Regions from separate parts of the Homo sapiens genome. Here regions 2, 3, 4, 5, 6 and 7 are each linked to region 1. Evidence: promoter capture Hi-C in 16 types of primary human blood cells and fetal thymus (Javierre and others, 2016). All regions are on one chromosome and are shown on one strand. Each heading gives the region's core, a stretch centred on a gene start or on the middle of the fragment in contact. The rest is flanking DNA. Distances are from core to core; before and after follow the strand shown. Region 1 holds the start of HLX (H2.0 like homeobox). Region 2 has its middle 33 kb from the start of DUSP10. Region 3 has its middle 5.1 kb from the start of DUSP10. Region 4 overlaps DUSP10 (dual specificity phosphatase 10). Region 5 overlaps LOC105372932 (a long non-coding RNA gene). Region 6 overlaps LOC105372932 (a long non-coding RNA gene). Region 7 overlaps LOC105372932 (a long non-coding RNA gene).

Region 1 (3,547 bases), core at 447-2,946:
GCTGATTTGTTCCTCCCCTTCCCCTTGCCCTGGATTCACTTTTATTGAGCGAAGTCAAGAGAGAACCCGTCTAGGCGCTGAAACCTCTCTCTCCCAACAGTTGCCAAGGAGCGACGCACGAAAAGTTCCTGTGTGTCCCTCACGTCCATATGCATGTATATAGTAAGTAAAGGCTTTACATAAATCGGCTTACGGCCTCACTTTCACGTGTCTTCCAAGAACGCCACAGACGCAAAACCTCCGCCCCAAGGTGGCCCCACTCTGCCCGCTCATCTAGGCGGTTTTGTTTATTATTTACATTTCCTGGGTGAAATTTTTACTAGAAATCAGATAAGTGCGAAAGTGTTTCCCAAAAATGCTTTAGCTGTCAGAAAATATAATTCTGTCTCTAGATACATTATTAAAGAGATCAAAGTCATGTTAGCAGATAATTACACCAACCACTTTTATAAATATTGATTCTAAGACGTGTTTTTAAAGAATCCCTGGAGTCATTTTTTGTTTGTTTTACATAGAACAGGTGAGTTTTAGACCTAATGTTTTGTAGTTTTCTTACAATTCGTTTTCTTCTCTCCCGTTTTACCGATTTGTCCTTAATTGTAAAAACACTCAAAGGCACCCCAAGCCAGCCCGGGGTCCGGGGAGTGGGTCAGTGGTCAGAGGCCTGCAGCCTCCCGCCCAAGACCTACCTCTCAGCGTGTTGCCTTCTTTGACTTTTGGGTCAAATTCTGCAGATAAAATGCGGTCAATTCCAAATTTGAGGTCTTTGCTGGAGGGGGCCGGGGCAGAGCCACTGTGGTGGGGGTTCGGAACCACTCGCGTCCCCGAGGCCGGGGGCTGCAGGGCGCCAGCCCGGGGCGGAGGCGGAGGCTGTTGCTGCTGCGGCTGTTGCTGCTGCTGTTGTTGTTGCGGGTGATGGTGGTGGTAGGCGGCTGAGAGCGGAGACAGCCGCTGCGGGAAGCCAGCCGGGACTTCGGAGGGCGCCACCACTGGGGTGGGTCGAAGCGGGGATCTGGCCGCCGCTTGGAAAGAGGCGTGCGGGTGAACCGAGCCCAAGTGCGCGGTGAGGGCGGCGGCCGAGGCCCCTGCCAGGCCCTCCGGGGCCGCCCCCAGATCCCCCACGCCGGCGTGCAGAATGTCTGCGATGCAGAAGGAGGGCTTTTTGACGGCGGCGGGGTCCAAGGGGAAGGAGCAGCCGCCTGGGCCGGCCGAGGAGCAGTAAGCGGCCGACCAGAGGCTGAAGTTGGAGGCGTAGAAGGGAGCCAGCCCGGCTGCGAACATCCTGCCGGGGTGAGCCGCGCGGCTGCCGCAGTCCAGCCGGACTGGGTGGGTGGGCGCGCGGGGAGGGGCGCGCGAGTCCCGGAGAAGGCGGCGGCAGCCGAGGACGATCCGCTTTCGCTTCTCCGCCCGCACTGAGGAAGAGAGGCCGGGAGCCCTAGCGCCACCGAGGGAGGAGGCGAGGGCCGGATCTCGGCCGGTCACCGCCTCGCTCCCTGGCCTCGCTTTAAAGGCGGCGCGGCGCCCGCACTCCTCGCGGGCTGGATGAGAGCGAGGGGCGCTGGGGCCGCAGGGCGGGCGGGGGAGCCAGGGAGACGGGAGCCGGACACCGCAAGAAAACCCAAATAGCTAAGCCCTAAGAGCTAAATTTAAAACAACAACAATAATAGTCCGTTAGTTAGGGGGGGGGAAAAGTAATAGAAAAAAAAAAAAACTCGTCTCTAAAAACTCCCAAAGTTTTGGCAGGAGCTTTCGAGTCAGGCCCGGGGTAGGACCTCGATCCGAGCGCTCATTGGTCATCCTCGTGACCAATGGGAGCGGGGAGTGGAGGGGAATTAGGAACAAGGGGGCCTGGCCGGACCCTAGCCACGCCCCGGCCACGCCAAAGTTTTTGCTGCGGCCGCGTGGGCTTAGTAGCGCACATCGCAGTGCTTCTTGCTACTCTGCGTAGGGGCCAGGCAGCCGCTCCGGAGGGCTCTGACTCTCTTCTAACTTCTGCAGCTCCGAACCGCCACGGGGCAAGGAGGGTTGATCACAGGAGCTTTCCTGAAGCGCTTGTCACCCGGGGCGAGTTGGGGGCGTGGGGAAGGGACGGTAATCTCACTCTTTAGGGCTCTGCAAAGCCCGCCTCCCGGTGGAGAGCGGAGCGCGCTTTGGCCCCTTTGCTTCCCTTCTCTTGACCTCATTCTGCTTTTATTCCAGGAGTCCGTGTCCTCGGCAAAGCCCCTCATCTTTCCTGGGCCCTTGCCCAAATGTTGCCGCCCTGAGTCCCGGCCCAACTCAGCACCGCGTCCGCCTCGTGCCTCCCAGGAGATCCTCCGGGAAGCGAGGAGGAGGGGCGGCCGCAAATTGGTTTTATTCTGAGCTGTCACACAGTGACAAATTGAACGAGTGACTTTTCAAACAAAATAAGACGGATGGCTCCAAACGTCTCTCTTAGACGCAGCCAAACCTTTCCCCGGAGCCTCAGAGGCTACAAAACAGGCTGCCTCCCGAAACCCGGGAGAGCGGCACGCGCTTCCATCCTTTGCAGGAGGTTGTAGGAAATGTTAGCCTCACCCCTCCACCACATCTCCGGATCACGTGGGGTTCGTTGTTTTGCAAGTGCCCACAAGAGCAGATTTCCGTGGGGTTCAATACTGCTTTCAATTCTGTGACAGCTTCCCCAGGAACCCCTTGGGCCTGGTTGCAGGAGGAGCTGCGTGGTGGTCAACGTCTTCCATTCGTGCCTTGGGTCTTTAGAACGCAGGGTAGTGGTGGTGGAGGTTTTGTGCAACATCGACATATCTATTTTAAGAATTTCTTCTCTTTAAATTATAGTCAGAATGAATTTCCCCACCCCTCTCCCAAACAAACCACAGGCCACCCAGATGAGCTGTTCTTGCACATTTTCAGGAAGAAAATAAAATAATACGAATAATGAAACCACGAAAACTTTTGTTTTCGATTGCCCTAATAAGCATCTCCTAACAGGGATTCTGTGACATTTTTATTTCCCTTCAGCACGAAGGCTCCTCACCAAATAAACCCAGAAAAGCAAGTGAACTTGCCATGCCTATCTCGAGTTCAGGGTTTGGGCTTATAAAATTAATTTCTGGTGTTTTCTCTAGCCCCTTGATGCAGATGCTATCCTTTTAAGCTTTTGACTTTCTCCTGGAAAATTATCAATCACTTCTGATCAGCCAGCACTAAGATCTCTCCCTCTCCCTCTCTCTCTCCCTCCTCCCGCCCTCCAGCTCTCCCGCTCTCGCTCTCCATCTCTCTTTTACTGAAAGGTTTTCTTCCCCTGCTCCACGCAACCAGGAGAGAGGTGCTATTTCCAGAGATAGATGGGTGTGTTTGGCTGAAGGTAGGGGTACCTGGGGCGAGAGACGTATTAAGACCAGTTTTTCTGTGTCAAGGTGAAGGCAAAGGAGCGACAAGTACAACATGGGCAATTGAGGCGCTGGCTGAGGGTTCTGGTGAGCCTTCGGTGGGAGTGTGCGTAGCGGAGGCCGTGAGCCCTCTGCTTTCTAGTGCCACTTCCAGTTTGATTGCGTTTCTAATTTGA
Region 2 (3,547 bases), core at 263-2,762, 900 kb before region 1:
AAGCCATTGTGAATAAGATGGTTCTTTTATCCCCAAAGAGGTTGCCTATTGACTGAAAGCCTAAGCACAGCTTCTGAGAGTCACAATGAGATCACATCTCTACTGTACTGAAAATCTTTTCAGGCACCAGAGAGAAAGGCCTGAGTGTGATTCTCCTTCCCTGGTTCTGAGTGAGAAGGTCATTAGCTCACTAGGTACTGGCAATTTCAAGAATTGCCAAAATGACAGTGATGTGATAAGAACAACTATCCTGTTGGGTCTTTGTGTAGTATTTTTCCTTTGAAAACAGCTTTATGCTAATTATCCCATATGAAACACAAAAAAAAAGGAAGTGTGAGGTCAATGTGGCTAAGATTTATGTCCGTTTTGCAGACGTGGATCTGAGATATCTCGTGATTTGCTGGTGGTTGCACAGGTAGTGGAAGAGCTGGGGTGGAAGGGTTTCTTCCTGAGCAGGTGGCTGTTCCTCCCAGAAGTCCTGCCTACCTGCCTTTCTCTTGCTGACAGCCATATCACCCACTTTGTTTAAGGGTCAAAACTGTCTCAGGTTGTTCTCACTGCTACACACCCACTAGCGCCATGACAAATTACAGATGCCATGGCAACATCAGGAAGTTACCCTGTATGATCTAAAATGGGGAGGAACCCTCAGTTCTGGGAATTGTCCACCTCTTTCCTGGAAGACTTGTGAATAATCCATTCCTTGTTTAGCCTATAATCAGGAAACAACCATAAAAACGGGCAACCAGAAGCCCTCAGGGCTACTCTGCCTATGGAGTAGCCATTGTTTATTCCTTTACTTTCTTAACAAACTTGCTTTCACTTAAGAAAAAAAAAAAAACTTTCTCCAGTAAAAATTTATGTTCACACCTAAAATTTGTAAACCAATGTGCATAGCATCTTTATTCATGATGGTTAAACACTGGAAACAATCCAGATGTCCATCAATAGACGAGTGGATAAGCAAAATGTATAATCCGTGCAATGGAATATTATCGGGCTGTCAAAAGGTATGAAGAGCTGACACATGCTGCAACATGGCAAAACCCTGAAAACATTATTTTAAGTGAAAGAAGCCAGTCACAAAAGCCCACATTATGTATTATTCCGTTTAGACGAAAAGCCAGATTAGGCAAATGTATATAGATGCAAAGTAGATTAGTGGTTGCCCAGCGTGGGGAGTTGATGAGGGTATTGGAAACTGATGGCTAATGGGTACGGATTTCTTTTAGGGGTGATAATAATGTTTTAAAATTTTTGATGGTGGCACAACTCTGTGAATATACAAAATCTCACTGGGTTGTATAATATAAAAGAGTGAATCATATATGTAAACTATATCTCAAGAAAGCTGTTATTTTTTTTTAAAGACTGACTCTCGGCTGTGGCTTTCATAATCTTCTTTGGCCATGGCTTTCCCCAGGGCTCCAAAGCTAGGCAGTGCCCAAAACTGTCTCCTCTAACTTTGTTTTACAGGGAGACATTCCTCCAACTCTGCCTGCTCAAATTTGTGGGGTGAAATCTGGTGCCTCTATATTTCCAAATACAAAGCGCTAGAGGTTAAGTTGTGTGCTTCTCAAATGTCAGTGTACATTCTGATCCCCTGGAGATCTTGCTAAAATGCAGATTCTTAACCTTTGGGTCTGGGACACAGACTGAGATTCTGCATTCTAAGAAGCTCCCAAGCAATGTCAGTGTAGCTGCCGTCCTCATTTTGGGAAGCCAAGGTGTCGACCACAGACCCAGAAGATGCAGCCTTTGACTCCTCAATGCCACCAATACAATTCAATCAAATATCAAGATTTTCAAAACATAGTCAATCGAATGTCTTTTTCCCACTCTCTATCCAATTATTAGGTGCATTTATAATGGAAGATTGTTAAACACGATTACCAACTTGGTGAAATCCTTTGGTACACAGTAATGTTTATGGAAAGCACCTAACAACTTGGTGGAGTATTTTTTCTTTGAACTGACTGAATTGGCCGTTTTTGGTTTGCATCATAGGGAAAACCCTGAGTTGTGCTAAGTCTGAGCTTCCTTAATCATTAACTATACATTTTAAAAGCACAAGATTAATTTCTGTGTTCCAAACACCAAACATGTTGTCATTTTGAGGAGTGGGCAGGTTCAGAGGACCTCCTTAGAAGGAGATAAAAGCCAAGAGATGATGAAGTTTTTATTTTTATTTCGTTTTATTTTATTTTATTTTATTTTATTTTATTTTATTTTATGGTAGAGATGGGGGTCTCACTATGTTGCCCAGGCTGGTCTTGAACTCCTGACCTCAAGCAATCCTCCCACCTTGGCCTCCCAAAGTTCTGAGATTACAGGTGTGAGCCACCACGCCCAGCCTGGATGGTGAACTTAACTTAGTTTTATAGCATCAGTGGATTGTGATAAGAGTTATGTACACAACTTAATTTTTGTTTAATAAGCATGTGGTGTGTATCTGTAACATAAAGAACACTATGCCTGTATCTCAGGAAGAGATATGTAAAGATGAATAAGATGCTGTCTGTGCCCAAAGAGAGGCCTTTATTCCTAGTCAGGGAGAGAAACAAGCTCACCAAGAAAAGCAAGAAATAAAAGGGAGAAGGAGAGAGCTTTTTGCTTGTTCTTGCTGTTTGATTGGCTTAAATTTTATCTCCATAGATTTTACTTTCTCCAGCTGCAAAGCTGAAGGCAAAGCTGAAGAATCCTGGACACTCTCCTTTGTTCAAATAAAACTTCTATTTACACAGGATTTGCTAAAGGAGTACAAGGAAATGGCAGAGATAGCATTAAGCTCACACAGCAGTTCCGGAAAGCGCCCCTTCATTGTTCTCAGGCTCGTACCTGCAGTAACAGGGCCTATAGGCTTTGAACACAAGACAACTGAGTTCGGAACCTCAGAAGAATTCTGGATATGGTACAAAAAAATTCAGGTTCAAATTCCTGTTGTGCTCAAGTTTAGATATACGATGATCATTGCTTTTTAAACCTGCTGGGGCTTATTTTTTCATCTGCGATATAAAGATGATTATACTAATTTCTTCAAAGGATGACATGAGCAGGAAATGAGCTAATGTATGGAGACAGTTTCATGAACTGTCCAGCACTCTACATATATAAGAGGTAATGACTGTTTTTCCTAGCCCATGTACTTCAGGTCTCGGCTGTCCCTCTCCTGCCCTCAGGTCTGGCAAACCCCACCTATCAACTAGCCATGGCTGCTGTGCTGTTTCAGGGCCCTGCTTGATGATCCAAGCGGATGTGGGGTCTTCCTAAAGACAATGCATTGTGATTGTGACCAGAAGGAAACTTAAGTCCAAGTCCTCAGTGAATTATCTGGGACTCAGTGTCTTCAGCTGTAAAATAAAGTTATTGACTACATTTTGAAATTCCGTTATAGAAATGCCTGCCCCATAAGCAGGCATGATTTATATTGGGGCACTGTATCTGTCTCCCGTATGAAGAAAAAAGCTTATAGTTCATTCTTTTTCTTCCCTGGGTTTTTGAGTCTAAGCCCTTATTTTCCACAAGCTGGGAAACTGGAAGAAGGGAA
Region 3 (3,547 bases), core at 693-3,192, 870 kb before region 1:
TTTTCTAATAGAAGTGTCATAGGCTCTTCCTTGAATTTACCAGTCCAATCCGCAGTAGCAACCAAGCCATTGACACAATTTAGGGCAATATTTGAGACTGTTCTGGAAATAAAGTGGAGGTCTGGATCCATTCCCCAATGTGGAGGCTGCGGTTGTAAGAGTGAGACCACATGGAGATTCACGTCATGATGGACTTAGAAAAGTTCAGAAGAAAACAAAAGAAAAAAACAGCAAATTCTTATGAACAGGCAATTAAAAATATACTGCAGTCTGGAGACTGAGGGGGACATGATAGAAGTTTATAAAATCACAACAAGAGTGAATGAAATAACACAAAATGGTTAAAAGCAGATGCTCTGGTGCCAGATTGTCTGGGTTTAAGTGTTGACTCTGCTGCTTTCTAGTTTTGTGACCTTGGGCAAATTATTTACCCCATCTGTATTTCTGTTTTCTCATCTTTAAATTAAGCTAATAAAAAAGTACTTACTTATAGATCGATGTGGCTGTGAGGATTTAAGTGAGTTAATGCATGTAAATCACTTACAGCAGTGCTTAGCACAGAACAAAACACTTAGTAATATGTTACCTATGATTATTTTTTCCCAAATTCTAGATCTTTAAAATCAGTTCAGTTAATATTCAATTGTAAAGATAAAGTACGTTATGATGCACTTTGTTGTCTAAAGGAACTTCTTATATGTAGAAGTGGTACAGTCTGAACCTACTAGGAGATGCTGAGAACGTTAGATTAATTCTTTAGTGTTAGACCTGAAACAAGTCTTGAGGGGGTTTATGAATGCTTTGCGTGCATGTTTACCTTATAACTTTGCATCCTTCAGTAACACAGTTGGACCCAGCCTCCTGGGGTTGAGAAACTGGCGCTGACAGCATATCGTAATGATAAAACATGATTGCTCAGTTTAGTGAAGGGGAAAATGTTAACAGTCTTTGATGTAGCAACACATAATAATAACAGGCCATCCGCCACAGAGGAGGGCATTGTTGGAGACCCAAGGCCAGTGAATGTTTTGTGTGTGTTATTTTCATAAAGAAAATAAGTTTACATCCATGGTCCACACACTTGGGCTGAGGCAAAATCCTCTTCTGAGAAAGAGCAGCAGATGTTTGTGGGGTTACAAATAGGGGAGCAGTGAAGGGGAAGAAAAAACTGAAAGGGATCTGCTTGCCTAAATGAAGACAGGGAGCATATTAATTCCCCTAACCAGCCAGTCACCTCTGTGTGATCAGTAGAGGCCAGAGTGAACCTTGAAAAGAGGTCTGAGATCAATCATGCTTTGGCCATGCCATCCAGTGAAATTGCTTTACAGGAAAAAAAAAAAAAAAAAAGAGAGAGAAACAGGATTAAAAAACAAAACAGAGGATGGGCGTGGTGGCTCACGCCTGTAATCCCAGCACTTTGGGAGGCCGAGGTGGGTGGATCATGGGGTCAGGAGTTCAAGACTAGCCTGACCAACATGGTGAAACCCCGTCTCTACTAAAAATACAAAAGTTAGCTAGGCGTGATGGTGCATGCCTTCTAGTCCCAGCTACTCAGGAGGCTAAGGCAGAATTGCTTGATCTCAGGAGGCGTGGGTTGCAGTGAGCCAAGATCATGCCACTGCACTCCAGCCTGGGCGGCAGAGTAAGACTCCATCTCAAAAACAAAAAAACAAAAAACAAACAAACAAAAAAACCAGAACCACCACAACAAAAAAATCCCAACCAGGATCCTTTCTTTAACTGAAATTTTACTTTGGAAGCCCATGAATAAGACATATATCTATCCATAGCTATATCTGCATCTGTCAAGTGTGAAGGTGTGGAGGACAAGATTGTGGTCACAGAGGCTCCACCAGTTCACCCCTGCTCCCATTTCTATTGCCTCCCACTTGCACTGATGTCTTTTACCCTTTGTATATAAAGTTTTCAAGATCCAATGTGTATTTTAATCTTATGGCACATCTTAATTCAGACTAGCCACACTTCGAGTGGCCGACACATGTGTCAAATGACCACCACACTGGAAAATACAGATATAGAGCCTTAAATGGCTCAGAGCCTTTTCCTGAGTCACAAGCACACCTGCCCATGAATTTTGTAGGAAAGAACTGCAGGCCTCTTGTGTCCAAACTCATAGATAGTGGGACAAGCACATGGCCCTGCCTCTGTTTCCATCATTACAGTAGCCACTGTCTTAGTCCAGTTGTGCCGCTATAACAAAATACCTGAGACTGGGGAAGTTGTAAGGAACAGAAATTTATTGCTCACATGAGTTCTGGAGGCTGGGAAGTCCAAGATCAAGGTGCCATCTGCAGGTTCACTGCCTGGTGAGGGTCCAATCTCTGATTTCAAGATAGCACCTTGTTGCTGTGTCCCCACAGGGGAATGGAAGAAAACTAACTCACTCCCTGAAGCCCTTTTGTAATGGCCCTAATCCCTTCCATGAGGCCTCTGCCCTCATGACTTAACCACCTCCAAAAGGCCTCATCTCTTAATAGTGTCACACTGGTGATTAAGTTTCAACATGTATTTTGGGGGAACATTCAAACCATAGCAGCTCCTTCCTTCAGGGAACACTTCTTATCAGCCCTTCCCTAGGCCTGGAGAGTGTTGCTGGATGTTTTGCCAGGCTGGTCTCAATGACCTCAAACACTTACCATGCCACTTTCCTATTCCTCAGCTTATTCCCCACTCCTTCTGGTATAATATCATCTTTATCCTGGATGATTTTTAAGTTTTCTCCAAGCCATTCTCTGCCTTAATTCTAGTACCTCCAGAAATCTATCTTGACCTTGAGGATTATTTTGAAGGCCCCACCTTCTGCCATTACCCCACACACTTAACCATTTAAGTGCACAAAAAAGAAGTAATTTAATTAATACATTTGCTAAATACTATCCATATTATATCTTATATGTTGGCCTAAGTTATTGTCATCTTTTGACTTTAATACATAGTACTTCAGCTGAAACAGTCAATATTTTTCTTATGATGTTTGTGGGAACAAAGATATGCTCAATACAATCATGTTACAACATCCAGACTGAATGAAGATGCTTCACTCTTTCTTTGGGACTGAAACTAACATTAACGCTCTGCTGCTGGTTATTGATATACAGATCAGATTTGTAGCCATTGGCTGACTAGCATTACGAATTTAAGTCTCAGGGCATTATATTTCAGTGTAGTATTTTCACATTTATCGCTCAAAAACAGGAATAAAATCACTTCTTCTTGTCCAAAAGATGTTCTGAAGAGTAGTGAATGGAAAAAAATTCCATCTATAATCTGATTTTTTTCACCAGTCTTATGACTTGAATATAAACTTAGAGATGCCTAACTTAAAAAATAACTACAACTTTGCTTATATTCATAATCTGGTAATTATTCCACATTTCAGGCTTGATATATGATAAGGAATTTTGCCATCTTTCCCAATGTTTCAGCCTGGATGGCTTAGATTCTTAGTCAACTAAATTATAATAATCTACTACTTTGAAACTATAATAAAACAATCATCTCATTACAAGAGTTACATTTCTTCTTG
Region 4 (3,547 bases), core at 439-2,938, 830 kb before region 1:
GGCTATTCGATATGCCTAAAAAATGTCTTTTTTTTCAAGGCTTCTGAAAATCGTAGACATAAAGAACTAAATATAATGAGGTTTTCAAGGGAGACCACACTAACCACCAGCCCCAACCCCCACTCTGCATGCCACTTCCTCCGGCAGTGATGGAGTGTAGACTAGGCTAACAGCACTGAGTACACTTTTAGCAGAGCAGAGCTACAGTGGGCTGTCCTCATGGCTCCTGCTTTGTCCTCCCTCTCTGGTGATGCCCTTGCATGGGGTTGCCTCTGCAGGATGGTCTCCTTTTCCTACTGCTCTGAAGCAACTGTACCAGCATCAAAAGTTCATCTCTAGCAACACTGACATTGACCCCTGTAGTCTCTGGTCATCTTCCTGCATCTGACTACCTCCAGTGCTAGTTAGCTTTGCTGCTCCATTTGACAGTCATTCAAATAGCTGCAGGGTTTGAATGCCTTCTTAAAATACCAGGATGGCTATTGTACACACAAAATCATTGAATCATTACGACAGACCTAAGTAGTAGTATCCTATTTTATAGTTATGGAAAGATAGCCCAGAATACTTCAATAACTTTCAAAAAGTCACACACTTGGCATGTGGCAGACCCACTATTCTAAATCCAAGGCAAAGCTCTTTTTTTTTTTTTTTTTTTTTTTGCTGCTTTATATATCATCCACTGTCTTTTCTAGAGTTGGCTTTTAAGATATATCTGTAGATAACTGTGTCTCCTTCACACAGGAAAAACCCATGAATGGAGGGACTAACTTATTTTTAGATATATCTTCCTAAAAGACTTAATAATATAGCAAGCCAAATAATGTGGATGGGTACTCAATGGGATTCAAGATCCCATTATGTTATATGAGTATATCTGAAGTTTTATGTATATGTGTGTATTTTAAGCTTGTGATACTTCCTTGTTTATGTCTTTTCAAACATAAGGCATCTCACATGTAAGCCAGACCACACTGGTTTGAGGGAAGCAGTCAAATGACGTGATCATAAGAAGACTTCTCTCTGACTCATAGTCAGCCTCCTAAATCTCTTTCTTCCCCTGAGTAAGATAAATACTTCTTTATCTCTTGTTTCATACCTTATACCTAGTGAGACAGCACTCCCATTCAACTCTCTCTGCCTCTGTTTGATAGGGCCTCCCTTTACTCTTCTTGGGAAAGAAATACAAGTTCCCTGGGGGCAAGATCCTAAGACAATTTAAGTAATACTTCCTTGGGTATTTTACAGTAGGAATGATTTTCATCTTGAACTTGAAAATACCCTACTGTAAAATACCCAATTCCTACTGTAAAATACCCAATCACATCTATGGAGTATAAAGAACATTTCATAGAAAACAAGAAGTAGAAATAATCTTTGTGGATCGAGCTGGTACCCACCACCACCCCACATGTTTCTCCTGTTAAGATAGGTGATATTCTGCCCTGAAACTTATGAAGTGACTCTGACCCTGTCTTTGAAGAAGATTTCAGCCTTGGCAGCCTGACATCAGCTCCAGTTCATCCAGGCTTTGTTCTTCCACAGATTCTTGTGCTTATAGAATCTTGAGTGGCTCTGATGTTCTGTTTCCATGGAGTATATCATAGCATCCATCTGTTCCTGGTATAAACAAAATAGTATGCAACTTACAGCAATGTCTCTCCCACTTATAATAAAACACCTAACTCTCATGTAGCATTTTATCCATATTGAGAGCTCTGTGAGATAGAAATTATTATATTACAAGTCACAGATATGTAAACTGAGATGCAGAGACATCAATAACTTGCTCAAGGTTACAAGGTAAGTGATAGGAGTCAGGAGTTTTAACTCAAGCAATCTGGCTCCAGTCTATGATCTTAACCACTATCATCAAGGTACTGTTTTACTTTAAAAGACTGGTTACTCAGTAAGAAAAACTAGGCAACAGAGAGGGGTGATCAATATGCTTATAGCAAACTGTAGAAGAGTCCAATTTTAGCCTACACCCCTCCCCCTGGTCTTTGGACATTACTTCTGTTTGCTGACCTTCAGTGAGAGTGTTCCTTAAATTTCTGGAAACAGCTCACTTTCTAGCTTAGCATAAGACCAAAAAGGGCTGTCCACCTTTAGAGTATAAAAATCTCTTGCTTATAGATTCTGCATTTGGATGTGGTTTCTTTAACTCACAACCCAGCGCATTGCTTCTGAATCACATTACAGAGGACTCTTCTGTTTCTAGGACTGCAGTCGCCAAAACAGCAACAGGAGCTGAAATGCATCTATAAAGAGAAGTTTCCCACTAAAACTAGAATCCATTGCTTCAGTAGGACTGTCACTGAACTGACCGTGTGTTAGAAGAAACTGGCAGGCAGTATTTCCACATATAGTTCTTTAGGGGTGCTAGGTATTCTTTGTTGCTGCCATTTAGAATCAATGTACTGACCATACTCATTTTGGCAGAGAACCTACTTTTGACATAAGCTTTGAAAATGTTTGCTGCCCCCCCACCCCGCCTTGCCTCACCCTACCCCAGCATTGTTGCTCATGGCTACAATATGTTCGCACTAATAACTGCAGGCTCTTGTGCACATAAGGAAGTTAGCCACCTTGGTAGAAATTAGAGGAAAGGAAGAAGGAGGGAAGAACAGTTTTATTTTCAAAATCCAATTCTGTGGAAAAACCAGAAATGCAAAGACAGTGTTTGTTAGGAAAGCTAGGACCAACAAAGTGAAATCAGATATATTTGTTTAGGAAAAATAGGGAGCTGTTGCTTTCTTTATGTTAAAAGTATGTTTTGCAAACTTTAAAACTGCTCGGATACCTTGGTTCCTAATTCTTTTTTGTTAAATAAAATTTTAAAAGTAAAAACTCAGGAACATTAGTTTACTTATATAGAGTCTTTATATTAAGCAGATTTTTTTTTTTTTAGATCTTTAAAATGGTAGTTTCCCAAAGTGATGAAAAGAAAAAGCACTTACAATGTGCTGGACATTGTTTTAAGGTACTTTATTAACCACTTTAATCATTACAACAGTACAGTGAGGTAGGTACTATTGTTATCCCTGTTTTGTATACAGGGAAACTGAGGAACAGACAGGTGAGAAACCTGCCCAGGGTCTCATAGCTAGTGTTTGGCTGTGCTGGGGATTCAAACCCAAGAAGTCCAGCCTCAATACTCCTTCTCTGAATCACTGCACTGCACTTAGGGCTCTCATGGACTATGCGTGTGCATAGATCTGTTGGAATTTAGAACAAAGGTGATGATATTGGGGGTAATAAGACATTATTTATCGAATACCTGGTCGTGTATCAAAACCTTTACATAGGCTTCCTGAACTATGACCCTGATGGGTAGATGATATTACATCCACTTAATAGATTGGTAAACTGAGGCTTAATGAGGGAACCTGACTTGCACAGGGTCTCACAGCTGCTAGGAGGCAGAATCATAACTGCAGCTAGGTGTGGTTTGTCTCTGACCTTTGCTCTTAACCTCCATGCTACACTGCTCCTGCTTTGTTTGTTAATTATCATGTTCTAATATTCTTAAATAGTAATAAACATA
Region 5 (3,547 bases), core at 441-2,940, 570 kb before region 1:
TAGAAGGCTCAACACTTTGGGAGGTCGAGGTGCAGGGATCACCTGAGGTCTGGAGTTCGAGACCAGCCTGGCCAACATGGTGAAACCCATCTCTACCAAAAAATACGAAGATTAGCCAGGCATCGTGGCAAATGCCTGTAGCGCAGCTACTGGGGAGGCTGAGGCACGAGAATCACTTGAACCTGTGAGGCAGAGGTTGCAATGAGCCGAGATCGTGTCATTGCACTCCAGCCTGGGCAACAAACTGAAACCCTCTCCTCACACCCCAACCCCCAGAAAAAAGCTACTAGAAGAAAACATAGGAGAAACATTTCAGGAATTTGGTCTAGGCAATGATTTTATAGCTAAGTCTTACATAACATAGGCGACGAAAACAAAAATACACAAATAGGACTATATTAAACTAAGAAGCTTCTGCACATCAAAGGAAATAATCAAGAGTGAAGAGATAACCTGTAGAATGGGAGATAATATTTGTAAACTACTCATTCAATCAGAAACTAATATCCAGAGTATACAAGGAACCCAACTCACCAGAAAATAATAATCACAATAATCTCATTAAAAAGTGGGCAAATAATCTGAATAGGCATTTTTCAAAAGAACACATAAAAAATGACCAACAAGCATATTAAAAAATGCTCAATATCACTGACATCAGAGAAACGCATGTCATCTCACCTCAGAATGGCCATTACCAAAGACAAAAAGTAACAAATATTGGCAAAGATGTGGAGATGAGGGAACTCTTAAACCCTGCTAATGAGAATGTAAATTAGTACAGCCATTGTGAAAAATGGTATTCAGGTTTGTCAAAAAACTAAAAACTATCATATGATCCAGCAATCTCACTACTGGGTATCTATTCAAAGGAAAGGAAGTCAGTATATCAAAGGGATATCCACACTCCCATGTTTATTGCAGCATCATTCACAATAGCCAAGATATGGAATTAACCTATGTGTTCATCAGTGAATGAATGGATAAACAAAACGTAGTATTTGTACACAATGGAATACTATTCAGCCATAAGAAAGAATGAAATCCTGTCATTTGCAGCAACATGGATGGAACTGTGGTCATCATGTTAAGTGAACTAAACTAGTCATGGAAAGACAAATATTACATGTTCTCACTCATATTTGGGAGCAAAAATAATTGATCTCATGGAAGTAGACAGTATAATGATGGTTACTACAGATTGAGAAGGACTGGGGGCAATGGGAGATGAAGAGAGGCTGGCTAATAGGTACAAACATACAGTTAGATAGATAAGTTCCACTGTTTAATACTACAGTAGTGTGGTCATAGTTAATAATAATGTATTATATATTTTATAATAGAAGAGGTTTGAAATGTTTCCAACACAAAGAAATGATAAATGTTTGAGTTGATGGATATTCCAATTACCCCAATTTGATTATTATACATAAAATATAAAACTATTATTTACCAGTAAAAATAAGAGTTTAGCAACAACAGCAACAAATGGGCTAAAAATCTGAATAGATATTTCTCCAAAGAAAATGGTCAATAAACACGTGTAAAGATGCTCAACATCATTAGCCATCAAAGAAATACAAATCAAAATCCCAATTAGATGTGACTTCACACCCTCAAGGATGTCTATCATCAAAAAGACATAATGACAAGTGGTGCTAAGAATGTAAAAAATTCAAACACTCATATATTACTGGTCACAGTGTAAATTGGTATAGCCTCTTTGGCAATCAGTTTGGCAGTTCACCCAAGGCTAAACATAGAGTTACCATATGACCCAGGAATTCTACTCCTAGGTATATACCTGAGAGAAATGGAAACATATGTTCACACAAAAACTTTTACACAAAGGTTCATAGCAGCATTATTCATAAGATCCCAAAAGTGGAAACAACCCAAATGTCCATCAACTGGTGAAGGGAAAAATAAAATGTGGCATATCCGTATAATAGAATATTATTAAACAATTAGAAGCAATGAAATACTGATACAGGCTACAACATAGATGAAAGTTGAAAACATTATGCTAAGTGAAAAAAGCCAGTCACAAAAGTCTACATGATTCCATTTATATAACACGTCCAGAATAGGCAAACATATAGAGGTAGAAAGTAGATTACTGGTTGTCTAGGGCTTGGGGTTGCAAGAAAATGGCAGTAAATATTAAAGGCTACAGGATTTCTTTTTGGTGTGATGAAAATTTTCCAAAATGTACTGTGGAGAAGGTTTCACAAGGAATATCCTTGATGAAGTTGTAAAAAATTATTACATTTTATTAAATATTGACCCTCAAATACAAATTGTTAAAATAGATAATAAACTAAGAGCTATGTATAAAGCACTTCTGCAGCATAATGAAGTATGATGGTTATTTCAAAGAAAGGCAACTGTGTGATGGAGTTGAAAGAACGGACAAACTGCAGTTATTCAGAGTTGAGTACTTGGTAGACAAGTTTTTAGAAAATTGATGAAATGAGGCCATCACTTCAAAGAAATCATTGACAGTATTTGTTGCCAATAATAAAATCTGAGCTTTCAAGAGAAAATTAGAATTTTGGAAAACTTACATCTACCAATGTGTGCTTGATGACTTCCCAATGCTTAAAGGCTTTTTCTGATGAGATGAGTGAAGATATTCATGAATAGAATTTTTTAAAGTTGTATAATGAAATATGATAACATTTACAATATTTGCCTAAGGTAACTAATAATTTCCATATGACCAATGCATGATGTTACACAATCCAACATGGGTACAAGATTTGTTTAAAGTGCAAGATTTTAAAAAATGGATTTTAATGAAATAGAGTACAAAAATTTCATGCACATTGCCACACTGAAACTAACCTTTGAGACATTGTTACTTGTCAAGTTTTGGTGTAGTATCAAAGAAGATTATACACAACCATCTGAGGGGATATTAAAAGACTCCTCTTTTTCAACCACGTATCTGTCTGAAGCAAGCTTTATGTTAGCCAAAATATATAGCAACAGATTGAATGCAAAAGAGCATAGGAGAATTTATTTGTTTTTTATTAGACCAGGTATTAAAGAGATTTGCAAAAATTATGAAACATGCCATTCTCACATTTTTGGTATTAGAAGATGTAACTTTTTAATACAATGGCATTACTTAACATGTAATGTGTTTAGAATTGTTTTAAAATTAATAAGTACATAATTTAGAATTTTCTTAGTTTTAATTTCTAATGTCATCAATATTTTTAGATATAACCAACACAAACAACAGCTTTTTCAGGTCCTGAATAAATTTTAAGATGGTAAAGGAAAAGTTTAAAAACTGCTGTTTCTCATTGTTTCTGTGTTCCACAGGAACATTCCTTTCAAGCTGCTCACAGGGGTAACTTTCTTGATAACTCACATTTATGGACTTACTTCACTTCCCTGTCTCACTTCTCCATTCCAAGACCACAATTTCTGGGATTAACTTCCAAATAAATAACTTATATGAAAATCCTTATCTTGGGATCTACTTTTGGAGAAACCAAATGAAAAGAAGCCCTTCCTTAGAACCCTTGCTTTTTCA
Region 6 (3,547 bases), core at 588-3,087, 550 kb before region 1:
AAATGTGTAAGTACCAGCGCAAAGTTTAAAAAAGCAGGAAGAAACAGGGAGAAATGCTCCAATAAAAAAAAAAATAAACAAATCTCCAGAAATCAACCCTAAATAAATAAGTGTATGAATTACCCAACAAAGAATTCAAAATAAACTTTAAAAGATACTCAATGAGCTCATACAAACAATGACTGAGCAAAATAAGAATTTCAACAAAAAGATACAAACAAAAACAATAGAATAAGTGTTGGAGCTGAAGAATGTTGTAAATGAACTGAAAAAAATAACTAATATTGTAAACTAAAATTAGAATCCTAAGCCCCCACCCCACACTAACTGAATGGACCCCATTTTGGCCAAAAAAACTATAGAGAAATCTTAAAAACTGAGTTCCCAGCCATGATGGGACAGGAGGTCAGACATGCCTTATTATACACCCTCTCTTTTGCAGTTTAGACACAATGACTGACCAGCATTAATGTTAAAATAGAGATCTAAGACTGACAAAACAAACTCTTTGTGGCAATGAAATGTCAAATTATAAACAGGACCCAAGGCCATGCCAGGCAAGAGTTAAGTCATGCATCCCCTACACTTAAAAAATAAACTATGTTCTAACTGCCACAAGATTTTTCTTTTTCTTTAGCAGCTAAACAAACACTGGTCTTGAGATAAGCAGTATCTCAAAAAAAACTTTCAGCTCTTCTACCACCAGCCACTGACTAACTGACCACTCTGTTCTACAAGTCATACATAACTACAGCTTTAATTAGACAAGAAACTAATTTGTCTGATAAGATTACCAACTGTGGACCTGTTCTAGCCAGTTTAGAGGTTATGCACTTAAGTGCCTTCATGTCCCTCTTCGCTTTTTGAAATATAAGCCCTAATTGTAATGCAATGAGATGTTGAGTCAGAATCACCTGCTTGAATATTTGTAGCTCCTCCTGTAACCTGTTGAATATGTATGTTAGTCAACGCACTCAGCATAAGGCTCCTACCCTAATCCCCGCTCCTTCAAAGTGCCTTTCTCCGTTATTTGCCAGGTGCTATGCTTCCCAGCTGTGGATAGTGACCTTGAAGGCTGTAACTTTCACAAGAAATGAAGTCTCCTCTCCTTTCTAAATTTATAAATTTTGTGATTTTTCAGTTAACAGTGTTTAACAGCAAGCTTGATTAAGCAGAATAAAAAATCAGTGAACTAGAAGACATTTGAAATTACCCAGTAAGAAGAGCAAAAAGAAAAGAGAATAATGGAAAAGACTGAAGAAAGTCTAAGGGCCTTATGGGAACACTATCAAAACACACATACACACACACTATAAATGTATATACTCTCTCTATATATATATTAAACATAGGGAAATAAATAAAAGCAGTACAAACCTGGAAGCAAAACTTCTAAATGCTTAGGTTAACTTTGGCTAGAATGAAATGGAGAGGAACCTTTTCTCTGTCTCCTTTGAAAATTATTCTTATGAATGGTTTCCCTGAGAGAGATATATATATATATATCTCATATATATTTATATATTACGAATGTATAATATATATATTCGTAATCAGAGTTTCATAAAAAAGAAGAAAGGGACAGAAAGCTTACTTAAGTAAATAATGGCCAAACATGTCCCAAATATGTGCAGGAGATAGACAAACAGGTTCAAGAAGTCCAATGGAACCCAAATAGGATGAATCCAAAGAAGTCAGCACTGAGACATATTATAACCAAATTGTCAAAAGCCAAAAATAAACAAATAATTTTGAAAGCAGCAAGAGAAGAGTGACTCATCACATACAATTGAGCAATATATGACTATCAGCAGATTTCTTAGCAGGAACTTTGCAGGCCAGAACAAAGTGGGATGATATATTCAAAGTACTAAAATGACAACTAAACGCCAATTAAGAATGTCATATTCAGCAAAATTACTTGTCAAAAATGAAAGAGAGATAATGACTTTTTCAAAGAAATAAAAGGCAAGAAAATTTGTCACCACTTGGCCTCACTTATAAGAAATGCTAAAGGAAGTCCTTCAAGTTGGAACAAAAAATATGCTAAACATTAAGACAAAGCATATGAAAGTATGAAGCTTGCTGATAAAAGTAAATATATAGACAAATACAAAATGCTATAATACTATAACAGTTGTGTGTAAATCACTTTTAGTTTTGGTATAGAAGTCAAAAGACAAAAGTATAAAAAATAACTATAATTATAAAAATATGCTAATTGATACAATAAAAATGCAATTTGGTATATCAATAACAAAGTATGGAGAGGAGGAGTAATACGCAATTGTGTGTGCAACTGAACTCATGTTGTCATCAGCTTAAGGCACATTGTTATAATTATAAGCTATTTTATGTAAGTCCCATGATAACCACAAAAACAAACCTATGGAAGGTATACAAAGGAAAATGAGAAACGAACCAAAGTGTATCACTACAAAAATCAATGAAACACAAATAAAGATAATGAAAAAAAGTAGGAACAAAAGAACTATAGGACAGATAGAAAATAATTTTTAAATGGCAATAGTAAATCTGTTCCTGTCAATAATGACATTAAATGTAAATGAATTGAACTCTCTAAACAAAAAACATAGAATGGCTAAATAGATAAAATTTTTAAAAACATAGTCACATACTCTCTGCAAGAGACTCAGTTTAGATTAAAAATAGTGAAAAAATAAAAAGAAAATATATCTCATAAAAATGGTAAGCAAAATCGAGCAATGGTGGCCATAATTTTTTAGGCAAAATGGATTTTGAGTCAAAAAGTGTCACAAGAGAAAACATGGATATAATACAATGACAAAAGAGTCAGTTCACCAGGAAACATAACAATTATAAGTATATATGTACCAAACATCAGAACACCTAAATGAATAAAGCGCACATTGACAGAACTGAGAGAGAAATAGACAGCAACACAATAATAGTAGAGAAATTTAATATTCTACTTTCAATAATGGAGAGAACATCCAGACAGAAGATTAATAGGGAAACAGAGAACTTGAACAGCACTATAACCCAACTGGACCTAATAGACATATACTGAACATTTCACTCAACAGCAACAGAAGAAACATTCTTCTGAATTGCAAATGAAATAGCCTCCAGGATAAATCACATATAAAGTCGCAAAAGCCTTAACAAATTTAAAAAGATTAAAATAAGTATTTTTTTGACTGTGATAGAATGAAACTAGAAATCAATAGCAGAAAGAGATCTGAAAAATTCAAAAATATGTAAAAAATAACATGCATAAATATGCAGTGGATCAAAGAAAAAAATCAAAAGGGAAATTAGAAAATGTCTAGAGACAAATGAAAATAAAACACAACATATCAAACCATATAGGATGTGGCAAAAGTAGTTCTAACAGGAAATTTTATAGCAATAAATGCCTACATTAAAAAAGAGAAAACAGGCCGGGCATGGTGGCTCATGCCTATAGTCCCAGCACTTTGGGAGGCCAAGGCAGGTGGATCTCGAGGTCAGGAGATCGAGACCATCCTGGCTAACACGGTGAAAACCCACTAAAAATACAAAA
Region 7 (3,547 bases), core at 471-2,970, 530 kb before region 1:
AAATAAAAACTGGAGTTCTGGTACTTTTGATGAAATGGACCTCTTCTTACAATTTCACCCCTCCCAACCCTCCCAACACACACTTTTGCATGTGACTTACACTTCATGTCTAGGAAACCAATTAAAATATGGTTCTAGAAGGAGTCAGCAGTGTTGGCTGCATTGCTTTCCAATCATTCCAAACCCCACCATGAAAAAGAAAGAAGAACTAGATAGCAAAAGAAAAATGCAAGGATGATATTCATATCTAAAAATAAAACTAGATAGCAGCTTTTCTCCACAATTCTCAAACTATAAGGGGTTGAGGACAAAATACCAGCACCCATAAGCCCTGCATTGGTGTTTGAGTTACCTGAAATAACCACAACCAGAAGAAGCCCAGAGTAGCCAGAGCAGTGGTAAGTGTCATGGGCCAGTTCTGGGTTAGCACCAGGAGGGGTATTGTCCAGCACAAGTGTGGATTAGAGGAAGAGGCCTGTGGCGTATCCTAAAGGGGCTGGAGCAGTCAATCCCCAATAAATCCATAAAGCTAACCCCCAGAACTTCCTTCCACATGGATACACACACACACACACACACACACACACACACACACACGCCTGGAAGTGGAATCAAGATAAGTTACCAGTAGACAACCAAATCGTAGATGAGGGGAAGGTTGTGCTATAAAAGCTTCCCACCTCATAAATGAAAATTAATGATAGAATTAGGATGACCCCATTTGCAATTCCCCAAATTAGTAAGGGATCTAGTCATCAAACAAAATTGGCTGTTAACGTCACAAAAAGAGAGATACCCAGATATCGAATGTCTCCCATTGTAAAAACATACCACTGCCTACAGTCCTGACACATGGATAGAAACTGAGTCAAAGCAGGATCTGTCTGATCTGATCCAGTTTGCAGCCAATACTGAGAAGAGAGGAGCAGGCTGAACTGAACTTTGTGTTGGCAATCAGCAAAATCAAGACTGTGGAGAAATATGCAGGTCAAATGCCCTTTTTTCTTTAACAGATAAATTATAAGGAAAAGAAAGGGATAAAAGGAGAAGACTTAAAAGATGTATCAGTTTTCTTTAAGTGGATCAGACTAACTGAAGCTCCCAGGGATGTTCACCGAAGTAATAAAAGTATAAAGAAATTCACAAAAGTGAAGAAGAAAATACAAGTTTGTGATTAAAATTGGACAGAGAGGATTATGGTTGGAATGGCTTCTAAGGTGTTAACAAATTTTCTCTCTTGACCTGAGTGATGGTAACAAGAATTTCTGCCTTGTAGTAACTCATAAAACCCTGCATTTGTTTTGTGTGGCAATTCCTAAAGGATTTAGAACTGGAAATACTATTTGACTCACCAATCCCATTACTGGGTATATACCCAAAAGAATATAAATCATTCTATTATAAAGATACATGCACACACATGTTCATTGCAGCACTATTCACAATAGCAACGACATGGAATCAGTCCAAATGCCCATCAATGATAGACTGGATAAAGAAAATGTGGTACATAGACACTATGGAATACTATGCAGCCATAAAAAGGAACAAGATCATGTCCTTTGCAGGGCCATGGATGAAGCTGGGAGCCTTTCAGCTTGCTTTGTGTCTTTCTGTACATATTTTAATTTACAATGCAAAAACAGAAAAAAAGCAATGTAATTTACTTGGACAGGCCCCAGTTTATTCTAAAAAATAAAATAGGTAGCTAGAGAGAGAGGCTGTCCTTCTTGCAAAAGTGAAATATTCAAAGTTTGCTTCATATTTCCTAAATATCCATAAGAATTGTTTCAACTGATAATTAATATAGGAAATGAATTTACAAATGTGATCTATAGTTTTATCTCATCTCTACCTGAGTTAAGTGACATAGTACCATGTCTAAAATTTATGTAATCAATGTACAGTCTGTATCTTCAAGGTTACCTCTAATTGTGATCAAATCTGTACATTCTGAATGGCTGGCTGGGACAAATAATCAACATCTGAATGAACAAAACCCAACAGTTACGTAACTACAGGGTTGAGAAAGGAGAATGACCATGGTTGATGGCAAGGTCAAGAACTTTGGGTGGAAAATGTCTCCCGTATCATATCAGAAGAAAGTCCCCAGAGCAAGGAATAAAAGGATAGTGAGTGTTTAGGAGCTTTCCTGGGTGCCCAGAATATGTTTGGTTTATTACTGTGATGTTTCCGCAGCTGCCTGCTTGTAGAAAGAGCTGCAGGAAATCTGTCATCTTTCTTCAAAACAAGCAAGGGTCACTAAAGCCCCGTTATTGGGCCAAAGCAGGAAATACAACAAAGCCCAACATAATATGGTTCTATTGAAAGGAACCTGACTTAGGAAAGAGTGGCGGATTTTTCTTAGGATTGTTAGTCTAAGCTGTTCCCAGACCGGTCATGATTAAAAGACATGCTTATTTAATGATCAACAGCTTATGACAAATCACAAAGGCTATCAATAGGAGAAGGAAGCCTGTGCATCCAGATGTAATCCTTTTCTGATGTGCCAGGAAATATTAACCATTGATGACAAAGTAAAATAAAACAAAGGTGATTGTTGCCATGCCATTTTTGGATGCATGCCAGGACTATGTAACTGCCCATGGAGATGGGAAGGTCAGGCAGAGTCACCCATAGGTACAATTATATAGGTTCTGGTGTTGGCTGCTCCATCAAGATACCCTGTGACTTCAGGTAACACATTAAACTGAAGAGAGAGAGAAATCTCTTTTCTTGTAAGAAACGAAAAAAAAAAAAAAGCTTAGTAATCTCTCCATGATATTTATATTAGCAAGGTCGTTAGTCAAAATAGCAGGTCACCTTTCAAAGGAAGTCACATCATGTATATTCTAGGAGGTATATGGGACCTCTAGTTACAGTGCTTTTAAAGAAAATATGTGCATTGTCCGTGTGCCAAGGATAAAATTCTACTAGATAGTAACTGACAATATACGGTGAAGTCTCAACTTCTATTTAAAAATGGATACTTAGAGTTACGTAATGGTTTTCTCTGGAGAAGTTAACAATGATTTATTTATTCATTCCTCCTATGACCCAAATAAACATTTTGTAAGACCGATAGCTGTCATGTAACTCTCTATCCTAGTGTGCGCTGGATCCTCCCATGAGGGGGATCCTCCCTGAGGAGGATGTAAATACTAACATCCCCCCATGAGGAGGCCTGGACCCACCCAAGCCTTGAGCTTCTGAAAACCAGGGCTTTTGATATATTGAGAAATTCCTTGTCGCTAGAGAGTGAGAAATGAAGATTGATCTGCTGTCCTAAGCCCCAAATCTATTGTGCTAGGGGTAATAGAGGCCTTGATTCTTTATGAGCATTAAGCCACAGCCCCCCAAGCCCGTCTTCTTTCCACCATGTATGCCCATTTTGCCTCACTATTTGGCCTTTTTCTTTGTCCATAGCTCAGTCCCCTCTATCCAGGCCAGTCAGCTAGATCTTTCCTTCTTTCCTTCCTTCTCGCCCTCACTCCTTTCTTCTCTTTTCCTTAAACTATCATTGAATCCAAGTGACTCAAATATGAAT

The links. The method cuts DNA at HindIII sites, captures the fragments that hold promoters and counts their contacts. A CHiCAGO score of 5 or more calls a contact.
Region 2: a fragment that was not itself captured here is called in contact with the fragment with the promoter of HLX in region 1 in 1 of 17 cell types (total B cells); the score reaches 6.1 in total B cells.
Region 3: a contact is called between a fragment that was not itself captured here and the fragment with the promoter of HLX in region 1, in 1 of 17 cell types (neutrophils). The highest score is 9.2, in neutrophils.
Region 4: a contact is called between a fragment that was not itself captured here and the fragment with the promoter of HLX in region 1, in 4 of 17 cell types (monocytes, M1 macrophages, M0 macrophages and 1 more). The highest score is 12.8, in monocytes.
Region 5: a fragment that was not itself captured here is called in contact with the fragment with the promoter of HLX in region 1 in 3 of 17 cell types (total B cells, neutrophils and naive B cells); the score reaches 5.4 in total B cells.
Region 6: a fragment that was not itself captured here is called in contact with the fragment with the promoter of HLX in region 1 in 10 of 17 cell types (M2 macrophages, total B cells, endothelial precursors and 7 more); the score reaches 16.7 in M2 macrophages.
Region 7: a contact is called between a fragment that was not itself captured here and the fragment with the promoter of HLX in region 1, in 1 of 17 cell types (endothelial precursors). The highest score is 6.6, in endothelial precursors.

What each region holds. Positions count from the first base shown.
Region 1 is chr1:220,877,592-220,881,138 of GRCh38, reverse strand. HLX (H2.0 like homeobox) reads right to left here and starts at 1,696. Exons shown (of 4, transcript NM_021958.4): 1 at 690-1,696. The coding sequence starts at 1,281. HLX-AS1 (HLX antisense RNA 1) reads left to right here and starts at 999. Exons shown (of 3, transcript NR_046901.1): 1 at 999-1,290. RefSeq lists an enhancer at 363-971 and a silencer at 2,090-2,139. The HindIII fragment of the contact is 7,579 bases long and covers 1-3,138 here.
Region 2 is chr1:221,773,788-221,777,334 of GRCh38, reverse strand. No RefSeq gene overlaps it. Among named protein-coding and RNA genes, the nearest start is that of DUSP10, 33 kb to the right of the region's middle. The HindIII fragment of the contact is 3,911 bases long and covers 1-3,467 here.
Region 3 is chr1:221,745,369-221,748,915 of GRCh38, reverse strand. No RefSeq gene overlaps it. Among named protein-coding and RNA genes, the nearest start is that of DUSP10, 5.1 kb to the right of the region's middle. The HindIII fragment of the contact is 4,022 bases long and covers 1-3,547 here.
Region 4 is chr1:221,709,893-221,713,439 of GRCh38, reverse strand. All of the region lies in intron 2 of DUSP10 (dual specificity phosphatase 10), which reads left to right. Among named protein-coding and RNA genes, the nearest start is that of DUSP10, 30 kb to the left of the region's middle. RefSeq lists an enhancer at 909-1,088. The HindIII fragment of the contact is 1,554 bases long and covers 912-2,465 here.
Region 5 is chr1:221,450,115-221,453,661 of GRCh38, reverse strand. The region is part of intron 3 of LOC105372932 (a long non-coding RNA gene); the gene reads right to left. Among named protein-coding and RNA genes, the nearest start is that of LINC02817, 120 kb to the right of the region's middle. The HindIII fragment of the contact is 2,553 bases long and covers 414-2,966 here.
Region 6 is chr1:221,427,745-221,431,291 of GRCh38, reverse strand. The region is part of intron 3 of LOC105372932 (a long non-coding RNA gene); the gene reads right to left. Among named protein-coding and RNA genes, the nearest start is that of LINC02817, 93 kb to the right of the region's middle. The HindIII fragment of the contact is 492 bases long and covers 1,592-2,083 here.
Region 7 is chr1:221,410,349-221,413,895 of GRCh38, reverse strand. The region is part of intron 3 of LOC105372932 (a long non-coding RNA gene); the gene reads right to left. Among named protein-coding and RNA genes, the nearest start is that of LINC02817, 76 kb to the right of the region's middle. The HindIII fragment of the contact is 2,091 bases long and covers 675-2,765 here.